Regions from separate parts of the Homo sapiens genome. Here region 1 is linked to region 2. The links are contacts of gene promoters, found by promoter capture Hi-C in blood cells and fetal thymus (Javierre and others, 2016). All regions are on one chromosome and are shown on one strand. Each heading gives the region's core, a stretch centred on a gene start or on the middle of the fragment in contact. The rest is flanking DNA. Distances are from core to core; before and after follow the strand shown.

The links. The method cuts DNA at HindIII sites, captures the fragments that hold promoters and counts their contacts. A CHiCAGO score of 5 or more calls a contact.
Region 1: a fragment that was not itself captured here is called in contact with the fragment with the promoter of GLOD4 in region 2 in 1 of 17 cell types (megakaryocytes); the score reaches 5.4 in megakaryocytes.

Annotation. Positions count from the first base shown.
Region 1 is chr17:1,074,066-1,078,579 of GRCh38, forward strand. The region is part of intron 6 of ABR (ABR activator of RhoGEF and GTPase); the gene reads right to left. Among named protein-coding and RNA genes, the nearest start is that of MIR3183, 54 kb to the left of the region's middle. The HindIII fragment of the contact is 630 bases long and covers 1,594-2,223 here.
Region 2 is chr17:779,434-784,405 of GRCh38, forward strand. GLOD4 (glyoxalase domain containing 4) reads right to left here and starts at 2,847. Exons shown (of 9, transcript NM_016080.4): 1 at 2,733-2,847. The coding sequence starts at 2,822. It overlaps MRM3 (mitochondrial rRNA methyltransferase 3), which reads left to right and starts at 2,920. Exons shown (of 4, transcript NM_018146.4): 1 at 2,920-3,259; 2 at 3,650-3,894. The coding sequence starts at 2,946. RefSeq lists enhancers at 1,778-1,877, 2,878-3,227, 2,899-3,447. The HindIII fragment of the contact is 3,821 bases long and covers 1-3,232 here.

The DNA of each region.
Region 1 (4,514 bases), core at 659-3,158, 290 kb after region 2:
TGCCACACGCAGGACCCCAGAATCACACAGCTCCACCCAGCCACGCCCCGAAGAGTCCAGCACACCTGCCACACGCAGGACCCCAGAATCACACAGCTCCACCCAGCCACGCCCCGCAGAGTCTAGCACACCTGCCACACGCAGGACCCCAGAATCACACAGCTCCACCCAGCCACGCCCCGTAGAGTCCAGCACACCTGCCACACGCAGAACCCCAGAATCACACAGCTCCACCCAGCCATGCCCTGCAGAGTCTAGCACACCTGCCACATGCAGGACCCCAGAATCACACAGCTCCACCCAGCCACGCCCCGCAGAGTCCAGCATACCTGCCACACGCAGAACCCCAGAATCACACAGCTCCACCCAGCCATGCCCTGCAGAGTCTAGCACACCTGCCACATGCAGGACCCCAGAATGGGGGAAGGAGACATGCTGTGTTTCCAGGAAGGGCAGCTCTCCAGACCTTATCATTCTCAGGCTCCTGGAGCTGAAGGCCAGGCACAGCCAGCTGGGATTGGCATGCCTCACTGTGATCCACAGGACTGGCCTCATCTCTCAGAGGAAAGACCCCTCCCCACATCCTCAAACCCCAGATAGCAAAGCACAGGAAGGCTGGAGGCAGGGAGGCTGGAGGCCAGGAGGCTGGCCTGATCTCCACAGAAAGGCTCTGCTCCCCGAGGCCAGCCTGGCCAACCAGTGAAACCCCATCTCTATTAAAAATACAAAAATTAGCCAGGCGTGGTGGCACATGCCTGTAATCCCAGCTATTTGGGAGGCTGAGGCAGGGAAATCACTTGAACCCGGGAGGCGGAAGTTGTAGCGAGCCAAGATCATGCCACTGCACTCCAGCCTGGGTAACAAGAGCAAAACTCCATCTCAAAAAAAAAGAAAAAAGGCTGTGCTCTCAAACACGTGGCAGCCTGAGGGGCAAAGGTTTCCTGAAGCAACTCAGGTTAGGCCTCACATATGAGAGCCCCAAAGAGGCTGGGAGGACGCAGGCAAGGCCAGCCCAGGCCCCCAAGAGCCACACCCTCCACAACCCGGACACCAAGTGAGGATGGCTGGGATTCAGCAGGGACAGGTGGAGGTGGCAGCTGGTGGATCAACACTTCCCAACACCCTTCCTGTACGCGGCTGCGCCCACCCTCCCAACAGGAGGCTCAGCTTCAGTCCTGCACCTGGATGCTCTGTCCCTGGGGTCATGACCTTGGGCCTCCTGCCGCAGGGGCAGTGACAGAGGCAGGTTGGTCATCTGGGAAGAAGGATCCCAGACTGGGTGTCCCATAAGACCAGGTTGTGACAGGTCCCAGCGTGAACACGCACGCCCTAGCCGGGCCCCAAACCTGATAGTTCTCCAAAGCCTGAGATATAAATACCCCGTGCGCGGCTAAGCAGACACTTCAGGGAGCAATCTGCTGGCTGTGAAGAAAATGCAGCCTCAGCAGGGCCACCAGCCTTACCCGCAGTCCGAGCTTGGCTGCCTGTCGGAATCACTGGGGGAGCGGTTAAAAGATACAGATGCTGCTCCCCAGCCCCGTCAACTCAACCCAAATCTCTGCAAGACCACAAGGGCCATCAGCATTTCTATAAAGCTTCTTTACTGATTTGAATGTATAATAATGGTTGAAAACCACTGCTTTATGTTTTATTTATGTATTTATTTTAATTTTTTTAAAAATATAGAGACGAGGGGCCGGGCAGGGTGGCTCACGCCTGTAATCCCAGCACTTTGGGAGGCCGAAGCGGGTGGATCATTTGAGGTCAGGAGTTCAAGAACAGCCTGGCCAACATGGTGAAACCCCATCTCTACTAAAAATACAAAAATTAGCCAGGTGTGGTGGCAGGCGCCTATAATCCCAACTACTTGGGAGGCTGAGGCAGGGGAATCTCTTGAATCCAGGAGGCAGAGGTTGCAGTGAGCTGAGATTGCGCCATTGCACTCCAGCCTGGGCGACACAGTGAGTCTTCGTTTAAATAAAAATAAATATAGAGACAAGGTCTCACTATGTTGCTGGTCTCGAACTCCTGGCCTCAAGCCAAATACAAGCTGGTCTCGAACTCCTGGCCTCAAGCAATCCTCCTGCCTCAGTCTGCCAAAAGTTGGGATTACAGGCATGAGTACCCGGCCAACCACTGGTTTACGTAAATACACTTCATATGACATATCTGTAGCCCTTTCTTATCTAGCAGTTTCCAGAGACCCTCCCCATGGGCCATGGAAGCTTGAAGGAATGAGGCCAGTCTTGGGGTATCCTCGGCACTGAGGGTGCAGCCCAGGTCCTAGCTCAGGTGGGATCCATTTCTGAGGCTGTTTAAGGCACCCACCTGTGGCTCAGCCCATCTTCAGGGGGAAAAAATCACACTGGAGAACCCCAGAGACCCAAAAGAAAGCACAAGCTCAGCAGACACCTGCCAGGGTGGGCTCCGGAGTGGCGGCTCCACAGAAAGCTGACACTGCATTATCGGCTCCCCGCAGCCCTCTCTTGGGTCCCAAGAGGAAGAGGTTTCTGACTAAGCTCAGAGGTCTGAACACATGGCAGGTTGGGTTTCAGAGGGGTTATTAACATGTCTGTGGTCACCTCCAGAGTCCACCTGAGTAAGGCTGTGGAATGAGCCCTGGAAGGGCGGCCAGGAGGGCAGGTGCACGGGGGGGGTGGGGGTGGGGGGGGTGGCGGCACTGGGACCACATCAGATACGGAGGGAACCGGGGGAATAAGAGCGGCCCTGAAGTTTGTGCTCCCCACGGCCCCTGCACGCTGGGGTCCCCTGAGAACTCAGGGTGAGGCACTCGCTCTGGCCCTTCCCCTGTCCCTGGGCTCCTGCAGGCTGGCCTGCTTCCTGCCCGGCCTCACCCACTCTCCCTCTCCACTGACACTGACTTGGGCAGCAAGCTGGTCTCTCTCTAGTTTGCTGGGTACTCGCTCTGTGCCCAAGGGTACTGAGTTAACTGCTTTGCTCTCATTATTTCCTGTGATTAAAACGGGAAGCAATTCTCACTAGCCCCATTTTACAGACAAGGCAACTGAGGCCAGAGACTTGTGGCTACAAGTGGTGGGAGCTGGGTAGATCCACCCGCACTCCTTGCTTTGAGCTGCACCTTCTTCAGGGAAAGGCAGCACCTGTAAAACCTCAATGAACCACAGGAGCGTTCTTGGAAAGAGTGACCAGGATGGGGTGAGCCCCCTCCTCACGAGCTGGCCCTTTCACTCCTCATTCCCCACTTTGAAGCCGACTTCAACAACAGTATCACGGAGACCGAAGCAACGTGAACTCCAGGTCCCAGGTCCGTTTCACTGAGTCGAAGCTTCCTTTTGGGGAAGGGAGAGGAAGCCAAGGGTACGTTTCCTTTTCAGGGAGGCAGAGTCAAGACCTGACCAACTCCTAGGCCAGACCAAAAAGACCATTTCTCCTCTGATCGCTGACCAGGCCAATTTCAAGTGAGAACAGGGTTCCTGCAGCCGCCCTGCTGGGCCGCAGGAGAGAGGCTGCCTCAGAGCTTGCTTCCATCAAGAGGGTCCTGAGAAGGTCAGGGGGCACTGGCCCCACACAGCCCCTCCAGCACAGCCGCCCCTGGGAAGGAGCCCAGGAAACCTGCCATCTCTCTTCCGGCAAGCCACCATCCCCCTCAAGTCAGCCTTCGACAAGGAGCTCCAAGGAGCTCCAGGTTACCAGGGAGATAGGAAAGCAAAGTGACTGAGAAGGGTGCAGAGCCGAAACACCTGGTGGGAAGGAAGAGGAAGGTCCTAAAACCAGCCGCCTGCTGCTCCCACAGACTCAGGCCCAGAGCAGCCGGCCTGGGAGCCACACGTGCCCACCCCACTCCCTGCCACAGGCAGGCAGGGCACCCCTTGGCACGTCTTGCCTCTTGAGGCAGGGTCCACGGGCTTCTGGACACCTCCCTACCTGGGCCGGCTTCATCCTCCTACGACCGACAGTCGTGTTGATGACATGCACCTGTCCCGGGACTTCCCCCCAGCCCCCAGCCAGCTGCGGGAGCTGCAAGGAGGATGGTCCGGGTCCCTTCCACCGAAAGGTGGTGTGTGTGTGTGTGTGTGTGTGTGTGACCTTCACAGAGTAGCTTGCCACACCCCTCTCCCGCTGGCCCTGCCGACCTGCCTTCCACAGTTGAGGGCCCAGACCTCGGCTGGGGGTCTCTCACGGCTGGAAACAAACCTCTCCTTCCTGCTCCCACAGCCCCTCCGTGTCCTCCGCCTACTGCTGCATGTGCGCGGAGCACACAATACCGTGCCGCCCAGCCTCCGCGCCTCTCTCCAGAAACAAAGAAACTCCCAACTTCTCCCTCTGGCTCGCGCTGGCACCCTCTCGGCTGGCAACGCCGCCGTCCGGACCATCGCCACCCATCGCCACGCTGTGCCTGGCCCCCGCAGACCCTCTCCCTGGCCTCAGGGCTACTACGTCTGCGGGCACAGCTCGTCGCCGTCTCTCCCTAACAGCCCCTCCAGGAAGTTCTCTCACACTAGCCCACCAATTCCCCACCGATCCTCGGGGCC
Region 2 (4,972 bases), core at 1,597-4,096:
AGCCTAGCCAACACAGTGAAACCCCATCTCTACTAAAAATATAAAAAATACAAAATTAGCCAGGCATGGTGGTGGGCGCTTGTAATCCCAGCTACTCAGGAGGCTGAGGTAGGAGAATTGCTTGAACACGGGAGGCAGAGGTTGCAATGAGCTGAGATTGCACCATTACACTCCAGCCTGGGTGACAAGAGCAAAACTCAAACTCAAAAAAAAAAAAAAGTCTGATTTGGAATTCTGTCATTTAGTAGTTGTGTAACTCTGAGCAAATTAGAATCTGAGTCTCAGTCTCCTAACATGTGATGGGAATGGATGTTATGAAAGCATCTCACAGAACCCTGCACACAGCGGGCTCTCAACGTGTTAGCTTTAGCCCTCCTTTTTGATTCCCACGGCTCCTGCCAGTTGAAGTTCCCAACGCTTCGCTCAGACTATTAAAAATCATCCTTATTGGCCGGGCGCGGTGGCTCACGCCTGTAATCCCAGCACTTTGGGAGGCCGAGGTGGGTGGATCATGAGGTCAGGAGATCGAGACCATCCTGGCTAACACAGTAAAACCCCATCTCTACTAAAAATACAAAAAATAAGCAGGGCGTGGTGGCGGGCGCCTGTAGTACCAGCTACTCGGGAGGCTGAGGCAGGAGAATGGTGTGAACCCAGGAGGCGGAGCTTGCAGTGAGCCGAGATTGCGCCACTGCACTCCAGCCTGGGCGAAAGAGCGAGACTCCGTCTCAACATAAAAAAAATAAAAAATAAAAAATAAAAAAATCCTTATTGATATCCTTCCTTAATAACACCAAAAAAGCACATGCCTAAAGCACAAAGCACTGATCCCATCACCACCCTGTTTAAGAACATAAGTGAGCTCCCATCTTACTGCAGCATAAAATCCAAATTCTTTAGCATAGCATTCAAGATACTATTAGAAGCAATGCCGACCTGTCCATCCTGATATCCCATCTCCTTAACTTCAACTAAGCAACCTCAACTAAAGGCACATAAAACCAGCGGCTTCGCAAACATGTGCCATCTCCGCACTGGCTCTTCAGTTTTACTATGTAGCTCCTCCTCTCATCTACCTGTGGATATCCTATCTTTAGACGTCAACTCGAATCCTGGCTAACACGGTGAAACCCCGTCTCTACTAAAAATATTTTTAAAAATTAGCCGGGTGTTGTGGTACGCGCCTGTGGTCCCAGCTACTCGGGAGGCTGAGGCAGGAGAATGGTGTGAACCCGGGAGGCTGAGCTTACAGTGAGCCGAGATCGCGCCACTGCACTCCAGCCTGGCGACAGAGCAAGACTCCACCTCAAAAAAAAAAAAAAAAAAAAAAGTCAACTCGAATACAAGGTCTACATGAATTATTTCCTCATCACCCAGGTTGGAAAACCGCTCCTTCTTTTGTATTTTTATAATAGTGGCTAACACTTATATAATCTACTATTACCGATATGTTAAATACTATACATATAATAAGGTGTTGAATCTTTTTTTTTTTTTTTTTTTTGAGACGGAGTTTTGCTTTCGTCATCCAGGCTGGAACACAATGGTGCGATCTCGGCTCACTGCAACCTCCGCCTCCCAGATACAGGCGATTCTCTTGCCTCAGCCTCCCGAGTAGCTGGGATTACAGGCGTGTGCCACCATGCCCGGCTAATTTTTGTATTTTTAGTAGAGACAGGGTTTCACCATGTTGGCCAGGCTGGTGTCCAACTCCTGACCTCCAGTGATCCACCCGCCTTGGCCTCCCAAAGTGCTGAGATTACAGGCGTGGGCCACCGCGCCGGCACGTGTTTAATCTTTGCAACAACCTTTTGATCGACGAGGAAATACTAACAAGGGACAGCTCTGTGGTTTCTGCTATCGAAAGTTTGGTGGTTTTTCACTATCAAATTCTGACTTCCATTACCATCATCTACGTACAAATCCAGTTCCAACTCCCACCCCAACCCAGGCCATGAGCTCTAATGGAGGATATATATCAGGGTCATTTGCACCTTTGTTGCCAAAACTCAACGTAGTACCCTGAAAATAGCAGATATTTTAAAAATGACCTGACGAATTCAGATCCCCGTCTATTGCACCGTCTATACACTAAACCGCGCTCTTGCACCTTTCAAGTCTTCCTTAGTGGTGTGTTCCCTACCTCCCTGGCTTATCAAAGGAGGTCCCCAAAACCCAGTTCCCCAACCAACTGAATCCTGCAAATAACAGCTCCTCAGGACCCGAGACAGACCGCTTCTGGGTGCTGTTGAAAAGCAGATGGGTTGAGAGTTGGAGCATATATTCAGAGACTGAGTATCCGAAACGGACTATTCAGACCAGCCTTGCTAGAAGCAGAACTCTGAATACGCTGATTTTATCTACATCAAAGGCTCCAAACCGGAAAACACAAATATTAACTAGAAAGCATTATATAACATTTTATTTACCGTCTTTTCCGGTAGACGGTAAGCTCCACAAGGGCGGGGCTCAATAAACGTTTACGAGTGGCTTAAATGAAAGGACGTGCGTGGGCACACCGCGGGGACTAATCGTGTTAGGCCCTTCTCCAAGGCCTATGATCCCCAACGGCAACTCGCCACGCTCCTGAAGCTGAACACCGCGCAGGGCCTAAGGTCGGACACCCTCCGGCTTAGGTTCACGACACACCCATTTTCCCCTCCCTCCGCCAGGGCCGGCTCGGGCGCCGGTTCCAGCCTCGCGCGCCAGCCCCTGTCGGCCCCGGCCTGCACCTTCATCCCCAGGACGTCCCGATAGAAACGCGCCGTCTGGAAGCGGTTTCCCACTTTGAATACGAAGTGCAGAGCTCTGCGAGCAGCCATGATTCCCGCCGCACGCAGCCGTCACGCGCACCGTACAGCCCAGTCCACGAAGGGCGCCACGGGCCGTGACGTCACTAGCCGCCGACGGCGCGCTTTCGTGACGCAGCCCGGGTCTCAGGGAACATGGCGGCGCTGGTGAGACCCGCGAGGTTTGTCGTGCGACCGTTGCTGCAGGTGGTCCAGGCTTGGGACCTTGACGCGAGGCGCTGGGTCCGGGCGCTGCGGCGGAGCCCAGTGAAAGTGGTGTTTCCTTCCGGAGAGGTGGTGGAACAGAAGCGCGCTCCTGGGAAGCAGCCCCGCAAGGCACCATCTGAGGCCAGTGCCCAGGAGCAACGAGAGAAACAACCGCTCGAGGAGTCCGCATCCCGCGCTCCCAGCACCTGGGAAGAGTCTGGGCTTCGCTACGATAAAGCTTATCCCGGGGACAGGAGGCTGAGGTGATGTGGTTCTTGAGCCTGTCGAATGTTCTCGTTTCCCTTCCCGTCGCACAGCGGAACCTTAACCTCCTTCCGATGGAGGACTTCTTCCAGTACAGCCCGCTGGTTTTTGTATTATGCACAGAGGGCCGAATAAGCGTCTTTGGAATTAGCTTCTGTTTCTCCTTAGCTCTTTGTTGTTGTTTTTGTTTCACCATGTTAGCCAGGCTGATCTGGAACTCCTGACCTCAGGTGATCCGCCCGCCTCGGCCTCCCAATGTGCTGGGATTACAGGCGTGAGCCACCGCGCCCGGCCCTCTCCGTAGCTCTTTATTTCTGTTACAACTAAGCGTGTCTCAGTAACAAGGATGTTGATAGTTACCTGTTTTTTTTTTTTATTTCCATCTACAGCAGTGTAATGACAATAGTAAAGTCCAGGCCATTTCGGGAAAAACAAGGGAAGATCCTGCTGGAAGGTCGCAGGCTCATTTCAGACGCTCTCAAGGCTGGAGCTGTGCCAAAAATGTTCTTCTTTAGCCGTCTAGAATACCTAAAGGAGTTGCCAGTCGATAAGCTGAAAGGTGTCAGCCTCATTAAGGTGAAATTTGAGGATATCAAGGATTGGTCCGACCTCGTAACGCCACAAGGAATAATGGGTTAGTGATTACCCAGTGTATCTTTTTTTTTTTTTGTCTTGTTCTGTCACCCAGGCTGGAGTGCAATGGCGCGATCTCGGCCCACTGCAACCTCCGCCTCTCGGGTTCAAGGGATTCTCTTGCCTCAGCCTCCGCAGTAGCTGGGATTACAGGCGTCTGCCACCATGCCCGGGTGATTTTTGTATTTTTAGTAGAGGTGGGGTTTCACCATGTTGGCCAGGCTGACGTCGAACTTGTGACCTCAGGTGATCCTCCTGCCTCGGCCTCCCAAAGTGCTGGGATTACAGGCGTGAGCCACCATGCCTGGCCTTACACAGTGTATCTTAAGGTGTGGAGACCTAGGATTAATTTCTCATACTTGTCTTAGGACAGCAGCATTGAAATGAAATTCAAAATGTTACAATTAGAAAAATATAATTCTCAAACCTGTGTATCTTAGAGTATTTTCAATGGAAATTGAAACCCGTTTTTCACTATCATTTGTGTTGTGGCTCTTTATGGTCTCTAGGAAGAACCACTATTCCTCAAACCTTCTATTTTTTAGATTACTTCTTCAACTTTCTATGTCAGATTAAAAATTAAGAAAGCGTTTACTGAAAGATTGAGCCCTTCATTTTTGCAAAACCTCTGCCAATGTGGTGATAACTGTCAATAAACTGCTTATTCCAGAAGCAGATCTAAGAAGCGAGGTACAAGCCACAATTTACTGCCCCGTTTAGCCCAATAAACAGAGAACCTTGTCTTCTAGTCTGTTCCTTCATTTGGCTGAATCTGACTTAACCTTATGTAACTCCGATGTTGATTAGCAGTTACAAAGTCTTTGGTCTAAATATGAGAAGATAAGTTTTTCATACGTTTTTGACATGGGAGTTTTAAGATATGAAAACTGAATCCTTGAACTGCTGAGAGAGGAGATTCTGGGGAACCATCTCTTGTCTCTGTAACCCAGTGAGTCACAGGGATCTGTGCCTCTGCACTCAGAGCTCTTAGATCCTAGGATGGGGACTTGGATTACTAAAGTACCTAGAATTACTCATGCTAAGTAACCATATTCTCACTAGCTACAGCCCTCTAATCC